Linked DNA regions of Homo sapiens: all the other regions are linked to region 1. The links are contacts of gene promoters, found by promoter capture Hi-C in blood cells and fetal thymus (Javierre and others, 2016). All regions are on one chromosome and are shown on one strand. Each heading gives the region's core, a stretch centred on a gene start or on the middle of the fragment in contact. The rest is flanking DNA. Distances are from core to core; before and after follow the strand shown.

What was found. Contacts are between HindIII fragments. The CHiCAGO score rates a contact against its expected background, and 5 or more counts as called.
Region 2: a fragment that was not itself captured here is called in contact with the fragment with the promoter of ZNF672 in region 1 in 1 of 17 cell types (naive B cells); the score reaches 5.6 in naive B cells.
Region 3: a contact is called between a fragment that was not itself captured here and the fragment with the promoter of ZNF672 in region 1, in 2 of 17 cell types (naive B cells and M0 macrophages). The highest score is 6.3, in naive B cells.
Region 4: a fragment that was not itself captured here is called in contact with the fragment with the promoter of ZNF672 in region 1 in 1 of 17 cell types (total B cells); the score reaches 5.9 in total B cells.
Region 5: a contact is called between a fragment that was not itself captured here and the fragment with the promoter of ZNF672 in region 1, in 1 of 17 cell types (naive B cells). The highest score is 6.1, in naive B cells.
Region 6: a fragment that was not itself captured here is called in contact with the fragment with the promoter of ZNF672 in region 1 in 5 of 17 cell types (neutrophils, monocytes, M0 macrophages and 2 more); the score reaches 9.2 in neutrophils.

What each region holds. Positions count from the first base shown.
Region 1 is chr1:248,836,701-248,839,916 of GRCh38, reverse strand. ZNF672 (zinc finger protein 672) reads right to left here and starts at 1,693. Exons shown (of 4, transcript NM_024836.3): 1 at 1,366-1,693. RefSeq lists enhancers at 371-450, 791-1,060, 758-1,257, 1,258-1,759 and a silencer at 1,351-1,750. The HindIII fragment of the contact is 11,934 bases long and covers 1-3,216 here.
Region 2 is chr1:248,608,705-248,611,920 of GRCh38, reverse strand. No RefSeq gene overlaps it. Among named protein-coding and RNA genes, the nearest start is that of OR2T10, 13 kb to the right of the region's middle. The HindIII fragment of the contact is 6,444 bases long and covers 1-3,216 here.
Region 3 is chr1:248,627,187-248,630,402 of GRCh38, reverse strand. It overlaps OR2T11 (olfactory receptor family 2 subfamily T member 11), which reads left to right. Exons shown (of 2, transcript NM_001001964.2): 2 at 3,131-3,216. Among named protein-coding and RNA genes, the nearest start is that of OR2T11, 6.3 kb to the left of the region's middle. The HindIII fragment of the contact is 2,727 bases long and covers 421-3,147 here.
Region 4 is chr1:248,668,635-248,671,850 of GRCh38, reverse strand. No RefSeq gene overlaps it. Among named protein-coding and RNA genes, the nearest start is that of OR2T27, 15 kb to the right of the region's middle. The HindIII fragment of the contact is 4,700 bases long and covers 1-3,216 here.
Region 5 is chr1:248,686,072-248,689,287 of GRCh38, reverse strand. All of the region lies in intron 3 of OR14I1 (olfactory receptor family 14 subfamily I member 1), which reads left to right. Among named protein-coding and RNA genes, the nearest start is that of OR14I1, 15 kb to the left of the region's middle. RefSeq lists enhancers at 633-682, 2,301-2,500. The HindIII fragment of the contact is 282 bases long and covers 1,293-1,574 here.
Region 6 is chr1:248,704,237-248,707,452 of GRCh38, reverse strand. No RefSeq gene overlaps it. Among named protein-coding and RNA genes, the nearest start is that of OR14I1, 3.1 kb to the right of the region's middle. The HindIII fragment of the contact is 9,630 bases long and covers 1-3,216 here.

The DNA of each region.
Region 1 (3,216 bases), core at 444-2,943:
AAATACAAAAATCAGCCAGGTGTGGTGGCGCCCGTCTGTAGTCTCAGCTACTGGGAAGGGTGAGGTGGGAGGATCACTTGAGGCCAGGAGGCGGAGGTTGCAGCGAGCCGAGATCGCGCCACTGTACTCCAGCCTGGACGACAGAGCAAGACTCCGTCTCAAAAAAAAAAAAAAAAAAAAAAAATTGCTAACACTGAGAATTGCGGTTGCCCGGTGCTTAGGATTTACTCTGCCTAGGACAGTCCTTCTTGTTGTTGTTGTTTGTTTGTTTTTTGAGACAGGGTCTTGCTGTCACCCAGCTTGGAATGCAGTGATTTGATCACTGTCTCACTGCAGCCTCGCCCTCCTGGACTCAAGCAACCCTCCAGCCTCAGCCTCCTGCGGAGCTGGGACTATGAGCAGGTGCTACCACACCCGGCTAATTATTATTATCATTATTTTTTTTGTAGAGACGAGGGTTCTCACCATGTTGCCCAGGCTGGTCTTGAACTCCCGAGCTCAAGAGAGCCTCCCACTTTGGCCTCCCAAAGTGCTAGGATAACAGGCATGAGCCACTGTGCCCGGCCCTGGGCAGTTCTTAAGAGCGACTCTGAGTAAGGGGCTTAACTCCTGTCTCCACTCCAGGCATCCTAAACGGTCTGCAGCCGTTTTCAGTCCTTCCCCCTCAACCCCTAAGAATCCCTCACATGATTAGAACAGCACAGCATGGGCCTTCCATAGCTCCACTTGCGCGAACTGTGGGCTCCAAGATGAAAGAAGGGAAGCTGGCTACTCATCTGGGGACTTGGTGCCTGGTACTTAAGAGCGAAGCACAACTATTCGCCGAATGCGGAACACGGCACCTGAACAGGTCGCTTTCCGTGGCCCACAGCAGCGCAGCCAATCCTGGGGCGCCTCAGTCGGCGCGCGTCACAAGTTGCTGGGCAAACTTTCTTTGAGCGAGCCCCTTCCCAACCCCGAGCCTACCCTAGCCCCTTGCCCGTGGCGCCAGCCGACTTGGAGGGCGAGACCGGGCACCAAAAACGTAGTGGGGAACGTTTAACGCTGCCAGAACCCGGTGGCGGCCGTTGCCCCCTTAAGTCGGCTCAGCCTGGCGACGTTTGTCGTGGTGACGCCAGCCCCGAAAAGGTCACCCGAGGCGGACCAGCGAGGACAGGCGGAGGGGAAGGCCTGGGAGGAGCAGGCCGCGCGGACGTGTCCGGCCAATCGCTCGCCCCGCAGTATCCCCGCGTCACTCGCAGCCCGGGCGGCGCTCCCGACCGCCGCAGACACCAGTCGCCCGAGGCAGATGGGAGAAGACTAGCCACAGCTGAGGACTGCTGCCCCGAGCCACCCTTGCCCTCCCCTGCCCTTCAGTCCCCTCACCGGTCGCCGACTGCCTCCTCAGACACCGCGCGGTTCCCACTCAGCCGGCTGCCGACCCCCGCCTCCCGGACTGCGGGACTGGGGCGGGGGAGCGAGGAAGGGGCTAACGGCGCGCGCGGCCTCCGAGTGGGGGGAGCGGGGAGGCGCCCGAGCGTCCGGCCCCTCGGGATGGGGAGGTCACGCTCCTGTCCCTCTCGCCCGCGTCGGCTAGTGGTCAGTCTGGCGCGGGCAGTGTCACCGGTTGCTGGGAAGACTGGGAGGCCAGCGAGCAGCGTACCAACCACTCAGCCTCTCCGGCCCCAGCTGGAGCCGGGAAGCAGGCGGGGCTAAAAGAGAAAGCCTGCGGGGGGACTCCACTCCCGCCTCCCGCGCGGGCCAAGGCCCCGCCCTCTCTTCTGGCTTAACCAATTCCTGCCTCCCGCTTTGTCTGTTGGCCCACCCCTGGGCCTCGTCCCGCCCAATCAGAGGAAAGGGCGCCGATCCCTGCGCGCGCCTCAGCCCCCAGCCGCGGAGTCCCGGGAGCTAGGCGGTCCACCGTCTAGTCTTCCAGCAGCTCTTCCCGCGGCCGCTGGCGGGACACAGACAGGTGTACCCTTCGGTGCTTCCGGCGCGGTAGCCGGTGCCCGGCGCGGACGGGGCCGCGGCAGCCATCCCCGTAGTTAAGTTAGCGCCTTCTTATTAAGTGAGGCCAGACTGGATAGCTATTATCTCTCAACCCTCACCACAACCCTGCCAGGGGAAATATGAGCATTTATCCTGTATTTTAGGTAAGGACCCCACAAGTTAATGATACGCCCAAAGTCGCAATGCCAGGGATAGGGGTTACTCCTGGTCGGCTTGCCAGCTGCCTCTCCATGAGCTTCCTGGTTGAACTGCCTGTCCAAATGTTGACCCTAATGTCTTCTACTAGGAAATGCTACTAGTATTCCTTTCCGGAAATGCATTTTGGGAACCTGGCCATCCTTTAGTGTGCCTATATCATCAGAACAGACGCCCAGGGATGGCCCTCAAGGTCCTTTACTGCTGTAATCTTCCTTTGGAGGTCACTTAGTACCACTCTTCTGAGCTCTGCTCAGGGGGTCCCCTAATTAGTGTACTTCGACCTGCCATGCTTGGCCTGGAAAACTCTTACCCTCTTCTCTGTTTTAATTTGTAAAACCTTAGTCAAATGCCATCTCCATAAACCTATGCTAGAATGCCCCTCTCTGTCCTCAGTCCTGGGGACATATCTATGCTGCAGCGCAACCTCCCGCATGTTGATACTGTTGTTATAGTCAGATGAATACTGTTCCCCCATAGCTTAAGGGACAGGCCTTGTCCTACTCATGAACAATTGATCCCTTGAAGCATGAGCAGAGGGCCAGCACGCCACAGATGATCAATGAGTGTTTGCTGACCCGCATATGACAACACGGATTAAGGAAGACAAATCTGGTAGCAGCAGGCAAGAAAGCTGAAAAGCAAGACACAGGATGCAGGTCTGGAGTGATCAGGGCCTGAACCAGGAAGGGATAACATTGAGAGAGACATGGAAAATGCGCTTGAAGTATATATATTTTTATTGTAAAGAATCATACACAGATAAGGTAGTATTATATAGAGAATGATTAGTTGAGGATATTTCCAGAGTCTTTAAGCCAGAGAAATGTACTAATTTAGACATTTCTGGACTCATTGCTCAGTACTGATGTCATGTTTTTAAGGACACTGACACACTTGGCTAATCCCAGAGACATGAAGAGGATGGTGACTAGGGTGGTCACATAATTAAAGGGGCTGGGGATATTTAACCTAGAAAGAGAAACATTTTTTGTGCACATAATGACTGTACACAAATTCTAACAAACTTTC
Region 2 (3,216 bases), core at 339-2,838, 230 kb after region 1:
TGTGTTTGGGCCCAAACCAGGGGGCCCTGCGTGGTGACAAAAAAAATTCATGTCAATAATTTCTTATGATTAAAACTATATTATCTTTTTAAAACATCTTTTTCACTCTATAAATACATCTGTGAGTGCTATACATAATTTAAGACATAGATGGAACTAAAAGGAGAAATAAAGGTATAAAATAAATCCTACCACATTTACTATAAAATTTTTTCTTTGTAAAAATTTTAGTTTATTTTGTTTTTAATCGACTCATAACAATTGTATATTTTTATGGGGTATGGGGTGATGTTTTGACACATATATACATTGTATAATGATCAAGTCAGAATAAAAATTTTCAAAATAGGATTTTGAAAATTGTTTTTAATTGACAATTGTATATATATTTGGGTACAGTGAGATATTTCAATACATGTACACATTGTGGAATGACCATGTCATGATAATTAACATATCCATCTCACATACTTATTTTTTGTGGGAGAAAATGATATTTTTAATATATAGATACATAGATATATTAAAATACTATAGATTAGAATCATGCTGTATATAGCTCTACATCTGCATAAATATTCTTGTGTACATATTTTCAGTGTTTACTTTTTAAAAATATTGTTTTGAATATAACTTCACAATTTACCTTAATAACAGAATCTGAGTTTTCTTATTTCCAATGTAGATTTCTTCCAATTTTTTACTAATCTAAAACAATACTATAATGAATATCTGTGTAAGGAATTCCTTTATTGTATCGGTTATTACATTTTTATTAAACAGTGTCCCTTTCATGTTCATATACTCGGGTTGTACCCGTCAGTGATCTACCCCGGCATACCACAAAAGGCCGCACTGGTGTTTTCACTGACTCACAGCAACACTGATAATCACACATTTTTTTGCCTCTCTGTTATTCAACAAATTAATGGACATTTTTGTGCTTTTTGTCATTGTCTTATTTTGTATGTACAAGTCTTCCACAAATTGTTTACTAACATGTTTGTGTCATTTTAAAAATTGCCATGTCTGTCTTATGAATATGCAAGAGAATCTTACACATTACCGATCCTCAGCCTTTGATTCGTCATGTGAACCATAAATTTCCTAATTAGAAAAAATTTGTTTTATTCAGAGATTGTTTTCAGTTTTCAAATACTAATTTTACTTTCCATGTTTTCTTCATTGCCTTTGCTCACCGTTTAGCTAAATCTTTACCCATTCATGTGTCTTGTTTTATATTTTTATTTTCCACATGTAAACCTTTAATCGATTTGATATTTTAAATTAATGTGATAACAGGACCTAGTTTCACCTAACTTTTTACTAAATTTTCATAATAATTTACTGAGTAATGCTTCCTTAGTTCAGTGAATCACAATGGAAAGTTTGAGACTTGTAGTATTTTCCCAGAATTGTGTTGCAGTCGTGCCAAGGAACCACACATTTCACTGGTTAATTTTTTACCATAACCATTGACAATCTATTGAGGAGAAATAACTTTTCTGTTTTCATCAGATTATGGCACTAGAAATTTTCAGTGACTTTGTTGAGTAACATTTAATAGCTTAATATGCAGGTTTCGATTCTAAGTAGACCATAGCTTCATTAAGGCTGACCCTGATTAGTATACATGAAATGTTTAAACTTGTAAAACAAACTTTTGAATTTCTTTTAAAATGACACTTTAGTAAACAATTCACTACCTAACTCTTCATGCCTTTGAATGTGATTTTAAAAATTCACAGCTGAAATATGAAAAATAAATGTATAGTAATATTTCTGCAACAAAAGTCACAAATAGAGTAATGTGGTGGCTTCTTTAGTGTGGGTGTGTTTTAACAGCAAATTCTACGATAAATTTATAGCACAAGATCCTTGTGGCTGAATAGAGCACAATGATAATTTAAGCATCTTCAAATACTCAAGTTCTGTAGAACTTAGTATAGTTCCCTTCAACTCCAGGGAAATGTTGTGCCTCCTAAATTTACACACGTCTAATTTTTTTTTCTTAATTTTCTAATAGTTTCACCTCGGAAGTGTAAGCAGCTTACCTGGGTGGGAAAGCAGGTCATGGCAGGGCTGGCCAGGTCATGGGCCGGCCTGCCCTGGAATCCCCTGCAGACCTTGCTTGTCTCCAGCTCTTCTCTCAGGCTCTCCCACTCTGAGTGAGTCTCCAGCTAAATACAAGGCATGATGTAGAATTAGGAAATGGAAAGAAAGGTGCAATCACTTTTTTCCACGAAGGGAAAAAGCATAAGGAACACGGAGGAAACTGGGCTTCTCAGGAGGTCCCTGGGCTCTTCTATTCTTGCAGGTAATTAGGGGGCTAGTCCCGAAAGGTTACGAAGACCAAGAGAATTGTTTAAAATGCTTCCTTTGTTTTCAGTAAATGAACTGAGCTACCATTTTAACTGTTTTCAAGTTGATTGTTTTAAATTAATCCTCTCAATATAATTAAGTAGTGGATTTGCCGATTATAAATTCTAAATGTTGCCAGGCATTGGTTTATTCACTCCACAGTCAGGTGCCTGCTTTGTGCCCATTCCTATGCTGGTCACTGGGGGCACAGTAAGGACAAAAGAGAGGCAGAAAGATTTAAGACAATATCCTTTATCAGTCTGAATTAAATTGCATGTGTTATTAGATAACTAAAGATAGGAGAGACTGAAGAATTCAAAGCAAGGTTTACAGAAAAATGATGGAGATGAGGTTCTGATGTTTAAGAGAAATGATAAAAACAGCCAAATTTGGTCTCAGACATGTAACAATGGATAGGACAGAATATACAAGACAAGGCTGTAAAACATTGCGTCGCTTGGTGTCCTATGAAAGCTATGTAGCATATATAAAGGATCCAAAAGGTTTCAAATACATTTCAAAACTCATATCTGCCTAAAACACATAGGTAGCTAGGAATGGAAATACATTTACTTAAATATTTCGTTTTAGGCAACATCATATATCAAAAGTAAAAAGAAAGCTAAAGCAAAATAGAAAACATACAACATAATATCTACCAAAATTATGAAAAGTTGGTTCCCTTGAAATAAAGTTGAAATGAAATCTGATATTTCTTTGTAATAGAATTCAAATGCTACATGAGGGTCAAAGGAATCGGTATAAAGCAAAAACAGAAATCAATACTGAGGTGACAGATGTTAGAGAATAAATAGAAGATAAAAGTAAAATAAAAATATGTTAACAAATGAAGAG
Region 3 (3,216 bases), core at 535-3,034, 210 kb after region 1:
TCTATAAGTATTTTAAACCAGAGCGTAATTGTCTCAAATTTGTACTGTATATAAACCTTAATGATTTAGAAGTTGTATTGCTGTCTGATCTTAGAAACTTGTTATTTATTTTTCCTAGAATGAAGTTTTTTTTGATCAAATATTGGTGGATCCCATTTTTTTGTCTATTTTGCATTGAAGATAAACACAAGTGCCTAGCATTAAAAAAAATTATTTCTCTTCAGCACATTATATAAAATCAGGAGGTGTTTTGAAGGAATTCTAGAGGTATTCCTTAAAAAGCATAAAATAATTTGCATTTTTGCTAGCTGAATGTGTTTAAAAATGATTTATTCAAAGATTTACAATGTGCCAGTCGTATCTTTAGATGGTGAGAGTACAGTTAACAAAATAGGCACAAATCCTTATTCACATGAAGCTTACTTTCTAGCTTGAAGAGACACAAAACACAAGGTAGTGTCAGACGGTGTTAAGAAAAGTGAAGAAAAATAGTCATAGGACCTCTGAGCAGGTGGCTTTTGAGCAAAGCCCTGAAGTACATGAGGGGATGGATGGCCTTGCACGGTTGGAGGAGGAGCCCCAGGCAAGGGGAGCAGCAGAGGCAATGGCCTGGGCTCAGGGCTCTTGCAAAGTGGGGACAGAGGACAAGGAAGCCACCGTCGCTGCAGCCCAGGGACAGACAGACTGGAGTCGGCGGGAGATCATTTCAGAAGACAAAATGTTCAGAACGTGATGGGCCTTAATGTATGATGTAAAGCACAACTGCAGGGTTTCAAGCAGAAAGTGGCGTGGCGGGATGCACGGGTCCCGATGTGACTTTGATGGTTGTGCTGAGACTAGACTTGGAGGGATTCATGAGACAGCAGGGAGATCGTGGGAAAGTTCGTGGAACAACCAGGGTAAAATGTGTCATGATGGATTAAGCCAGGCACCTACTAGCTATGGACATGAGAAATATTATAGGTTTTTAATTGTTAATAAATAAGTTTTACTTATTCATTTCTTTTTTAGAAACAGGGTCTTGCTCTGTCACCCAGGCTGGAGTGCAGTGGCACAATCATAGCTCTCTGTAACCTCAAACTCCTAGCCTCAAGCAATTCTCCCAACTCGACCTCCTGAGTAGCTGGGACGACTGACGTGCACCACCACGCCTGGCTAGTTTTTTATAAAGACGAGCTCTGTTACCCAGGCTCATCTCAAACTCCTGGCTTCAAGTGATCCTTCCGCCCTGGCCTCCCTAAGTGCTGGGGTTACAGGCATGAACCACCACACCTGGCCTGTTTTTACTGTTTTATACATTTTGGATAAAATGTTTGAATTTGTTTAATATGACAAAGAGATGTGCTCTCTTCTCCTTAGTGTGGGTTAATTCTATTAGGAAGTTTTTGGAGTCTAATATAGAATGTTTCTTTTATATTTTTGGACTTTGAATTAGCAGAATATATTTTTAGGCAATATTTGTGTTCACTATCCTTGGGAAATGGAATAGAATTGAAACGATCAGGAGTGGATCAGGAGGCTAAGACTCACTGAAGTAGAGTTTTGACCACGGAGTATTTCTGGGAGGCCTGACAGAGGAGGCCACAGTCCTTAGCCCCTTTCACAGTAATATGAATATATCAATCAGAGGGAAATTGGGAGTAAGCCAATTTAATTTTGATGTTAGTAAATAACTTTTTTGTTTAGACTCTATTTGTACTGATTCTACTGGTCACTTTTCAAGGTCATAACAATTCTGGTACCTTTGTGAAACCAGATATGACTTCAGCATGGTAAAGGACAACCAGCTAAATTTGAATTTCAGATGTACAGTGAACCCTTTTTTTTGGTGTTAAGAACATTATGAACTTGCACTAAAACATTTTTTGATTATCTGAAAGTCAAACATAGCTGAGAATCCTGTATCTTTGCTAAATCTGGCAACACTAGATAGTGGAGCCAAGGTGTGTCTAGCAACATGTGAATGGGGGGAAACCCTGCAGCATCCGGGCTCCCCCGTTGATCGGACTTTCATTTTTACACAAATGTTTGAGACTCAAGCCACTGAGGCCTACCATGCCGGGGAGGAGGTGCTGGCGGGGAGAGGGGGGCGATTCTTACTACATGTATGGTTCTTTCTCTTGTCTAACAGTTAAATCTATCTTCCACCTGGTATGTTAAAGATAAAATTCCTTCTTAAACGGTGGCCTGTTGCTGTCACATTTCCATGTATCTGCTCCGTAGCTTTCTAAGCCTGAGTTTGGCTCTGGCCTCAGTTCTGGTAAGTGCTGGCAGACGTGTAGCTTGGTGAACCCTGCTCCTGTGTGTCTGCTGCTGACATAGCTTCAACCTACCAACATTTTCCTTTAATTTCCCTGCCCATTTCCCAAACCTACAGTAGCAATGGAGAGCAATGCAGGGAGTCAGCTTAGTGTCATAAACTGCTTTTTAAAAACTTAATTCTGGGAGCTTTTTGCAAATAGTTTTTTTTACCTTCTAATTTATCTGAAGAAAGATCTGCAAAAAGGTTAGCAAAACAGCACAAAGAACAGTGAGGAGTCCCAACTTTAGACATAAACAGTGGAATAATAGGCATCGAAGGCTTGGAAGAGTAGGGGGTGAAAGCGGAGCGAGGGGTGAGAAATTAGTAATGTGAGCACAACCTACGCTATTTGACTTACGGTTACCCTAAAAGACAAGACTCCACTATGCGATACATCCATGTCATGACACTGCACTTGTCGTCCTTAAACTTATACAAATAATTAAAAAGAAATAGAACAGAAACATGGGGCTTCGTGAATAAAACGTTCCCTAATAGTTATCCTAACCCTTCATTTCTTCAGTGATTTACTTCACTCCCCTTTATCCATTTGGTCAATGAATCACCCTTTTTTCCAACTAGTATTTACTTAACCCTACTATGGGCTGGATAACTTTCTGGATACAAGAAATGCAGCATGGACAGAACAGATATGGTTAAAACCCCATTCTTGGTGTAGCATACAGCAATTGTATCACGCAGTTACCATAACCTCCAGCAGCATGATGAACCATAGACGCAATATAGAAGGAGCTGTTCTCTGACAGGGAAATGCAGCCATGGTTTTTGCTTCATGATGTGCATGTTGGTCTGCCTGTTCTTCTCTAGCCTCTAGCCTGGAAGCTTCATCCTGACGGTACCCTCAGAAGTGTCACCTCTACTGCAGACCTTTCCCATCTTGACCGTGTTCTCTT
Region 4 (3,216 bases), core at 465-2,964, 170 kb after region 1:
GGACCAGTGGGGACCCTCCTGCCAGCACGGACTCCCTGCAGAGCATCAGGGGGACCAGTGGGGACCCTCCTGCCTGCAGGGACTCCCTGCAGAGCCTCAGGTGGATGAGTGGGGACCCTCCTGCCAGCAGGGACTCCCTGCAGAGCATCAGGGGGACCAGTGGGGACCCTCCTGCCTGCGGGGACTCCCTGCAGAGCCTCAGGTGGATGAGTGGGGACCCTCCTGCCAGCAGGGACTCCCTGCAGAGCCTAAGCCGGACCAGTGGGGACCCTCCTGCCAGCGTGGACTCCCTGCAGAGCCTCAGGCAGACCAGTGGGGACCCTCCTGCCAGCGGGGACTCCCTGCAGAGCCTCAGGCAGACCAGTGGGGACCCTCCTGCCAGCACGGACTCCCTGCACAGCCTCAGGCGGACCAGTGGGGACCCTCCTGCCAGCGCAGACTCCCTGCAGAACCTAAGGTGGACCAGTGGGGACCCTTCTGCCAGCGGGGACTCCCTGCAGAGCCTCAGGTGGACCAGTGGGGACACTTCTGCCAGTGTGGATTCCCTGCAGAGCATGAGGTGGCACAGGACATTACATGATGAGGGAGCTGAGCAGTCTGATGTGCTAGCCAAGATCTCTCTTCTTCTTATAAAGTTAATCTCACTTCTATGATAATCCATTAATCCATGAATTAATTAATTCATTTATGAGAGCAGAGGCCTCACAACCAAATCACCTCTTAAAGGCCCCACATCTGAATACTGCTACATAAAAAATTAATTTTTTTAGAGTGTCATTTTGGTTTTAATCCACAAATTATTTTTCAAAATTTCTGTGGGTATATGTTAGGTGTATATATTTGTGGAATACATGAGATGTTTTGATACAGGCATGCAGTGTGAAATAAGCCCATCATGGAGGATGCGGCATTTATCTTCTTAAGCATTTATCCTTTGCATTACAAACAATCCAATTACATAGGTTCAGAAGTACTTGTGTAGGTGTCATATAGGTAAATTGCATGTCACAAGGGATTGGTGTACAGATTATTTCATCTTCCAAGTAATAAGCATAGTACCCTATAGGTAGTTTTTCTATTTGTGTATTTTTAATATTAAATCCCAATCTCTAGAAACACTAATACAAATAATTCTTTTTAAGTTATCGACAACTTAGTCACATACAAAATTGTTTCACAATGAGCAGGTCTATACAAACCTATCCAAAGTTGGAGGAAGCTGAGATGCTGAAGATAGAGGCTGATAAATACAGTTTCTTAGGCAGAAACAATTAATAGGGACTTATGAACAGAAGCCATGTGTGTGTCTCAGGCAGCAGTGAGATGAGATGGCAAATTCCTGTGCCATTAACCCCAAAACCCAGGACTTATATGCCATAGGGAAGGAATGATTCAGAAGGCATGTGTAGGACAATTGAAGTATGATAACATAAAAGTTGTTTGACCTAAGGGCAGGATTTATAATAAGTACCTGTTCTTACACGAGGAGCAATAAATAAACTGGAAATCTTAAAGGCCTTCCCCCCTGGAGTTAATCAGAAGCCAATAGGGCAGATCACCATTCAAGATGGAGTTACTTGAGCCTCCCATCTAAGAAAGAGTAGCTTTAGTCTCCAAAAACTTTTCTTTCATAAATTCTCTTTATAAACCTTATCATATCTTACACAGACTATTTATGACATACTTGGACTTTCTGTTTTGTCCAAAATTTCCCTCTTAAATAATGAGTTGTTTTATTTTAGAACTACATTTACTATACAAGTCTCTTTCTCATACAAAATTATACTTTTTACCCATTTTTAAAAATAAATACATCTTTGGATTTGTATAATAGCCTTTGAATTTGACAAAGATTATTTTCCTTTTAATAAGAACATATTTTTATGTCTTTATTATAATTTCTTTTCCATAAAAATATTTACTTTGGTACTCTCTAAATACAGAATTATATATTAACTAGAATTTTTATTCTTAGAACCTTAAATTTTTGTGAAAACCTAGGAAGTAGTAAATCTTGAATTGTCTGTCATATATCAGTATTTTATAGATGAGAACCATTTTATATTATTTTAGAAATATGTTTTTCTGTTTTTTAAATTAGAAATGATCCAGACACTTAATGAGTATTATTTACTTTAACTTTAAGATTTTAAATTATATGACAAGTTCATTTATAAGCATTTATGCCATTAAAGCTACCTAATTTATTTTTTAAAACAGTTTTCCTAGGTTACTTACAAAAACTGACATATTAGACAAAGCTAGTCATCATTAAAGTTATTTTTCAGCTAACCATTCTTATAGGCTGTGAATATTTCAGGTGTTTACCTACATAAGAACCAAATGTTAAATATATGTTTATTTGATTTTTTTTTGGCCAACCACTAAGGTTTTACCTATTTTCAATAAATCAACAGTATTAAATGTCTTATTTATAAAAAATTACACAATGATCATTAAGGGATGGGTTTTAAAGTTTTATAACCTTCATGACAAAGTTTGGTACCTTATAATACAAACACCGCTAAATATAAAACTATTTCACCAATAAATCCAGACAAAAATGTATGCTGACAATTCTGAAGGCATTTCAAATTTTATTTTACTAATAATTATAAAGCCAGCTTATTTATTGAAGATTTACTTGTCATGTGAACTTGAAGAGCATTTGGACTTTATGAGTAATCCTTTATTTTTAAGCCCATTTGATACCTTGCAGTTACAACATATAAGAAAATACATGTACATGTAACATAAACACAACTCAACATAGATACACAGATACAAAGATCCCATAGGTTTTATTTCAGAACTCTAGTCACAAGACAGCAATACAGATTCACCAGCTTGCAAAAGATGGTTTAATTTAAACAATGGGTTTTATCTCAAAACCAGTAGAAAAGCAACAGTACATTTAAAACAGAAAAATAAAATAGAGAAATTGAGAATTTAGGAGATGCTATATTTAATTCTATAGTTGCAGGTCAACTTTGAGCTCTGAATTTACCCATCAGTTTAAAAATGTGCCAGAACAGACTATAATACATAACCAGCCAGAGTACTAGAAAACCAAGCATGCTCTCAAACCTTCACATTTACACAAACATTTGCAAGTAGAGTGCCATAAAACCCCCAGGGGTGCCCCAAAGGAGGTCATCTCCTTGTCTTTTCTCAATCTTTGAGAATTTGCTTTGCAAGTTTTTTTTTTTGTTTGTT
Region 5 (3,216 bases), core at 184-2,683, 150 kb after region 1:
CATGGACCCAGAACATGTGTTTTTCTAGAAAAATGAGTGAACCTGACCAAAGGTAATTTTAAGTTACAAAGGCCACAGTGGGGAGACTTTTTACAAAGGACAAAGAGGTGCATGCCTTTATAATACGCCAGCTATGGGGACTGAGAAGACCTCCTTGTAGCTATTTTGAACCCCAGAGGAGTTGCCTCAAAAGTAAAGGACCGCGTGTCCCAAGAAGTTTACCTGTATTTTAAATAGTCAGGCCTTTGCATAAGAAATTTTTCATTTCTATACCAGTCATCTGATGGACCTGGCCTGTCTACCTACTAGAGAAAGCCCCCAAGGGCTACACTCCCTGGGCAATAATCAACCAATCCCCCAGAGAAAAAAAATGGAAGTTTCAAATCAAATGTGGAAGTCCCCATACCTGAAGCTATCTGACTGACAGTTGAATCATATTTAGAAAAACATTTGTAAGAATGAGTCTTTTCTGTTTTCTCTCTTTAATCCTGCTTCTCCCATGGGAACCCTGCAGTCAACTGAAACACCTCTTATGAAACTTCCCGCTAAACACATACTCTGCCAATTCTTTCTTGTTGTCATGATCTTTGCTATGCCCCAAACTCTTTCTGGTGGGTGGGGGGAAATATTATTCAGTCTTGCAATCTTGAAAACAAAACAGGAGAGAAAAGTTGTACCAGTCTGTGATTATAGAGCAAGATTAGAAGTAACCATGGTGAGTCAGGCACACAAAATATTTGTTCTAGTCTTCAGTGGGTTCCACCCACTTAGTATTTTAGTTAAAAGACAGAAGGTGGGTTGGAAAACCACTGATTTAGCAGAATAAATCTCCAAAATACAACTTTTTGGCAGAAAAACTATTTTCACCTGCTTATTTTGAGGACTCTTTGTAAGAGAAATTTACATCCCTAAAGGGAATCTCCATTTGTAAGAAGGTCTACCTCTCTGGACAGAGAACACTGGAAACTCTGATAAGGAAGAAAGCGTTGGCTTAAATCTACAGAAGCCTTGCCTTTAAAGTGCTTTTCCTAGCTGTCTTGCCCTAACTGGGTCTTTACATCTTTCTTTCTTGGTTTGGGCAAATTAAAGCATTTAAGCTGGAAGTCCAAGCTCTGTGCTTTTGAGATATAAATTTTCTACACAGTCTTCTCTAGAGTTTAATAGGTATCTATTTAAAATGCAAGTTTAGGGTAGATAACTCATCAGAAGTAGAAGTAAGAAAAATAGATATTTGGAAACTGAGCAAATAAAAAAACATTAATGATCTTTTTCACAAATATTAGTAAGAAGCTTTAGCCATTTAAGTGGCATTAGCCAAAAACAATTTAGATCCAGATATTCTTTAATAAATTAGTGAGATTTGTATTATTGTACCTGGCACATGGCTAAAAATTTGTAATGTTTCTGTTACATGTCTATCTATATCTGGATGTATGTACATATGTGCAATATTTTTCTACTGCCTTATAGTATTGCCAAAATTAAATAACACCATGTTCAAACAAGACGGATGTCTAGCTGTAGGCAAGCAGGTGATTTTTCTACTTTGCTCCTATGTCTGGCCCATAAAAGCTTGTTCACACTGCTGGGCAGAGCTCTCTGAATTTCTTCTGATCTGTAGTGCGATCTGATAATGAATCATTCTTTGATCAAATAAAGTCTGCTAAGTTTAATTTGTCTTAAGTTTTTATATTAAGACTCACTTTCCTCATTTGAAAAATGAAATGATAAAATATATATCTCCTAAATTTCTGCCAGATTTTTCTATTCACTTCTAATTTTCAAATGATCGTATTTAGTGAGATCTACCCATCCTCTTGGTCTGTGACTGGTTGTGGAACAAATAGATTTGGAGGAAGATGAGAAGCATGATGATTGTCTCCATTAAGCCAATAATTTTCTGAGAGTCTATGTGCAATACAGAAACAGGCTGCTGTAACTGCAAAGTAAACTGAGTATACGCACTTAACTGCTCTCATGTGGCATACTGACTAGGCATAGTGATGAAGTAAAACAATTTATTATTTTCTGAGTACTTAAATGTCTGGGTTTTGTACTTTATCGAAGATTATTTTATGAAATGTGAAAATATAAATCCTTTACTTTTTTCACTGTTTACTCTCCTCACTCTCTTAATGAAAATCTCTATATCTCATGCTCATCACTTCCTCACGGACTCTGAGTTCAGTTGGCACCTACTCCATATTCTGCTTTCTGTTTCAGCAGGTAATTTACAATTTAACCCAGAGGAGGCAGCATCCTCCTGAGACCAGCGTCCCCCAGGCTTCCTTCTGGAAGCCAATCTCCTCCAGACTGTGGCGGCCCAGTCTCTATGGGAAACTAACAGAGAAGATTGTCTCCTTGATATATTATACATCAGGTTTTCTCTATCACTGAGTTTGCATGTTAAATTGGGTCACTTCTTCTGGTGAGACACAGAGGAAAACTTCAGAACTGTTTCTTTATCATCATTGGTCCAGACAGTGAATACATATTGAGAAGCTACATGTTATTTAATCAAGGTATTGCTGGTCTTGTATTTCTCAGATATTTACCCAATAAGGAAATTGAATTTGTCTACATGAGATTTATGTAAGCAATCATTTCAAATTTTTTATGAGAAAAAAATCAAGACATGTTTGCTTAAAGTGATTTAATTGTTCTCTTAGTAATTATGTTTCATATTTTTTTCCAATGAAACAAGCAAACAAAATAGTGCATTCAGTTTGCTTGAATTTTTATCATTTTAATCAGTTTTGGAGAGATCTATTTTTAGTTTGAGACTAGAGTGGAAGCAGCTCATGGTGCAGTGTGTATTGGTTTTGTTCCTCAGTGTTGCTCTTTTGCTTGATATAAGTGGGATAAAGGGCAGCTCTTCAGCATCAGGCCACTCAGAGAAAACTACACTGAAGTAAAAAGGCTTCATATAGATTAGATACAAATGCTCTCAGAGGTGGGGCAGCAGAGGCCATCTTGTTGAGTGTAGTTTTACATTTCAGTAAATTGAAATTAAAATGTATTTGTAGGTTCCCCAACTTAAAACAGCTGTGTCAGAACATGACAAGAATTCAGGTCTCTTTTAATCTTATTACTCATCATACCACATGTGTGAATTTAAAATAGACAGACTTGGAAGCAGGAAATCTTTATACATATTTAATTCAATATGCTTTACGGTTAAAAATAATATATTCAAAATTTTCAACTTATATCTAT
Region 6 (3,216 bases), core at 323-2,822, 130 kb after region 1:
TCTGAAGTTGCATCATGAGTCATGGCCCTCACATTTGACTCAGAATAAAATCTCTTCAAATATATATTTTTTGTCAACAAAAGGTATCTATAAATGAGGACTATTGGAACTGTTACACTAAGGAAAATATTACAAAGCTGTGTTATACAATGGGTGAAGGGGAGGGTCACTGTACCAGGAAACTAATTTATGGCTGTGGCTGTCTTTGAGAGGGAATTAGCACACACAAAGCAAGTTTAGATCATCAACAGAACAAACTTTTGAGAGAGATTATAGGAATCTTTTTATATGGAACTCTGAACATTATGGATGATGTCCTACTAGATTTTTTTTTTTTTTAAAGACAGGGTCTCATTCTGTTGCTTAGGCTGGGGTGCAGTGGTACAATCATAGCTTACTGTAAACTCAAATTCCTGGGCTCAAACGATCCTCCTGTTTCAGTCTCCCAAGTAGCTAGGATTTCAGGCACACGCCATGATGCCTGACTAATTTTTTATTTTTATGTTTTTGGTAGAGACAGGGTGTCTATGTTGCCCAGGCTGGTCTCAAACTCCTGGCCTCAAGTGATCCTCCTGCCTCGGCTTCCCAAAGCATTGGGATAACAGGTGTGAGCCACACTGCGCTTGGCCCTACAAGAAATTTGACAAAAATGCAGAACCAATCTTCTGTTGCCTCCTGCAGAAAAGAGTACGAAATATAATGTAGACCATTGCTCCAGGTAACTGAACATAATGCAGCGTGCTTGAGGGGCTTAAAGATGAAGGGAGGAACGATTTTCCCTGTCGTAATCTCAGGTAGAGGCTGTTCTTCGCTTTCCACAGACAGAGGCTGATGACCGCAGCTAATTTCTGGCTCCTCATTGCTCTGGCTCTTGGATCCTGAGACAGAGCAGGGACCCCTCTTAGGGGTCTCTGGGTCCCCCAGGCATGGACATAAAAGAAATTCTTGAGTACCTTCAAGGAAAATTCCAGGCACCTAGCTAGCTTAGAAAAGTAAATGAACAATTTGATAAGCAAGAAGGTAATAGTAGTTTAAAACAATAGCCAAAGAAACTAGAGCCAGAAGATGTTTGGCTCCCCATAGAAATTAAAGATAATATCTTAACATATGTTCCTGAGCTAGTTTTCAGAAACCTGGAGCCCCACAAAATGGAACTGCAGACACACAGACCTCAGATAAGGGAGAACTAAGGACTGAACTGTGATTGCCATTAGAAATTTCTTTCTGAGGGGCCTGGAGAAGGTCATACCCATGAGCCAGCACTAATATTCTTTTTTGTTTGATTTTTAAACAAAACTCTTTAACCATTGCAAATCAGAAAATCTTAGAATCTACCCCGACCTGTAAGCCCCACTTCAAGATATCCCACCCGTTTAGGTCAAAACCAATGTGTAACCTCCAGGATTGATTTACAACTTTGCCTGTAGCTTTCCTGAAATTTACCCCTGCTTTTTTTTTTCTTTTTTTTTTAATGGTGTTTCGCTCTTGTTGCCCAGGGTGGAGTGCAATGATATGACCCCGGCTCACCGCAACGTCCGCCTCAATGGTGCGATCTCTGCTCACTGCAACCTCCACCTCCCAGGTTCAAGTGATTTCCTGCCTCAGCCTCCTCCTGAGTAGCTGGGATTGCAGGCGCCGCCACCACAGCTGGCTCTGCCACCACACCCAGCTGATTTTGTATTTTTAGTAAGGATGGGGTATCTCCATGGTGGTCAGGCTGGTCTTGAACTCCCGGCCTCAGCTGATCTGCCCACCTTGGCCTCCCAAAGTGCTGGGATTACAGGCGTGAGCCACCGCGCTGGCCTACCCCGCTTTTAAAAACCATTACCTGCAAGCCACCTCAGAGGTCAGGATTTAAGCATTAGCTTCCTGGTCCTCCTTGCTTGGTGCTCTGCAAATAACTGCCTTCCTTTTTACTGCTGCAAACCTCAGTGTATATATCTGGTCTTACCAGCTGGGTGGGCAGACCCCAGTTCGGGTCAATGACGATCCTTCTCAGAGGTCAGGTCTCTAAGACAAAAGCATGGTGCTCTCCCAACCCCAGGCCTGCCCCCTTTCAAATCTGTGTAGATGACCCATCCAACACTCAGCCCCAAAGGTCCTTTGGTATCTGTGCCTCTTGCCTCCACTCCAGCAAATCCATGTCCAACTTTGACATGGGAACTGTGAAAGGAAAATAAATCTCAGGACTCCGGGCTCACTAAGCAAAAGCGAAAAGTCAAGCTGGGAACTGCATCAGGGAAATTTGTTTCCCATTTTATTCCTAAATAAGATAACCTCAAAGATTAAAAAAAAAAAAGAAAAGAAAAGCTACATACCTCCTTCACAATTTGTACATTAGGAAATTCCTTTACCCTAAAATAGTTCTGCTGAATTTTAGCCTGAAAATGTAAATTGATAGTGTATCTTCACAGGTATGGGACAAAGGGCAGAATTCAAAGTCATTCTTCTGCCCACCTGAGACAAATGCATATCAGATTTCTTCCTCTGTGTTGGGAAAAGCTGAGTGTTGGGAGAAGCTGAGGTGGGGCTTGCATATCTGACATAACGTAAAAGAGCTCTGGAACATGTCCAGGGTTCAGGGTCTAAATCCCCTTGTGGTCTTTGGAACACCAAGCTCTGTGCTAATGGGTGGAAGGCTACCCTGATGCACCATAATCTAAGCCCAGGGCATAAAATCCCTCATGGCTTGGACAGAATCCAGGGCTCGCAGCTCTGGAATGTGTCTAGACTTGCTGGCTCCTTGCTCCTTGCTCCTTGCCCTCCCAGGATCAACAGTACCTTGAGTTAAAAGAACCTGCTCTCCATTTTCTCAAGTAGCAGAGCAGATGCTAAACCATCACAGCTGTAAATCATGTGCTTAATGCAACACGCCCTTTCAGCCTCCACATTCTTACCACCTGTTTCTTTGCTGGATTACCAATAAATAGCACTGGGCTCCCAGAGCTCCGGGCCTTCACAGCCTCCACAATTGTGATGGTCCCGTGGTCCCACTTTACTTCTCCAACTGTCTTTTTCTCAGTCCTTTGACTCTGCCAGACTTTCTCACTCCCGTGACCTGGTGTTGGGTCTGATCACCCCAACATTCTGCCTTATGTTTATATTATATAAAAATGCAGATTAATTGAGCCAGATGAATGCATAAGTGACTATTCCTCTACCTACTTCTCACAAGTGAAGGGCTTATCAAAGACTCGAAAGCATGCCACTGCTTGC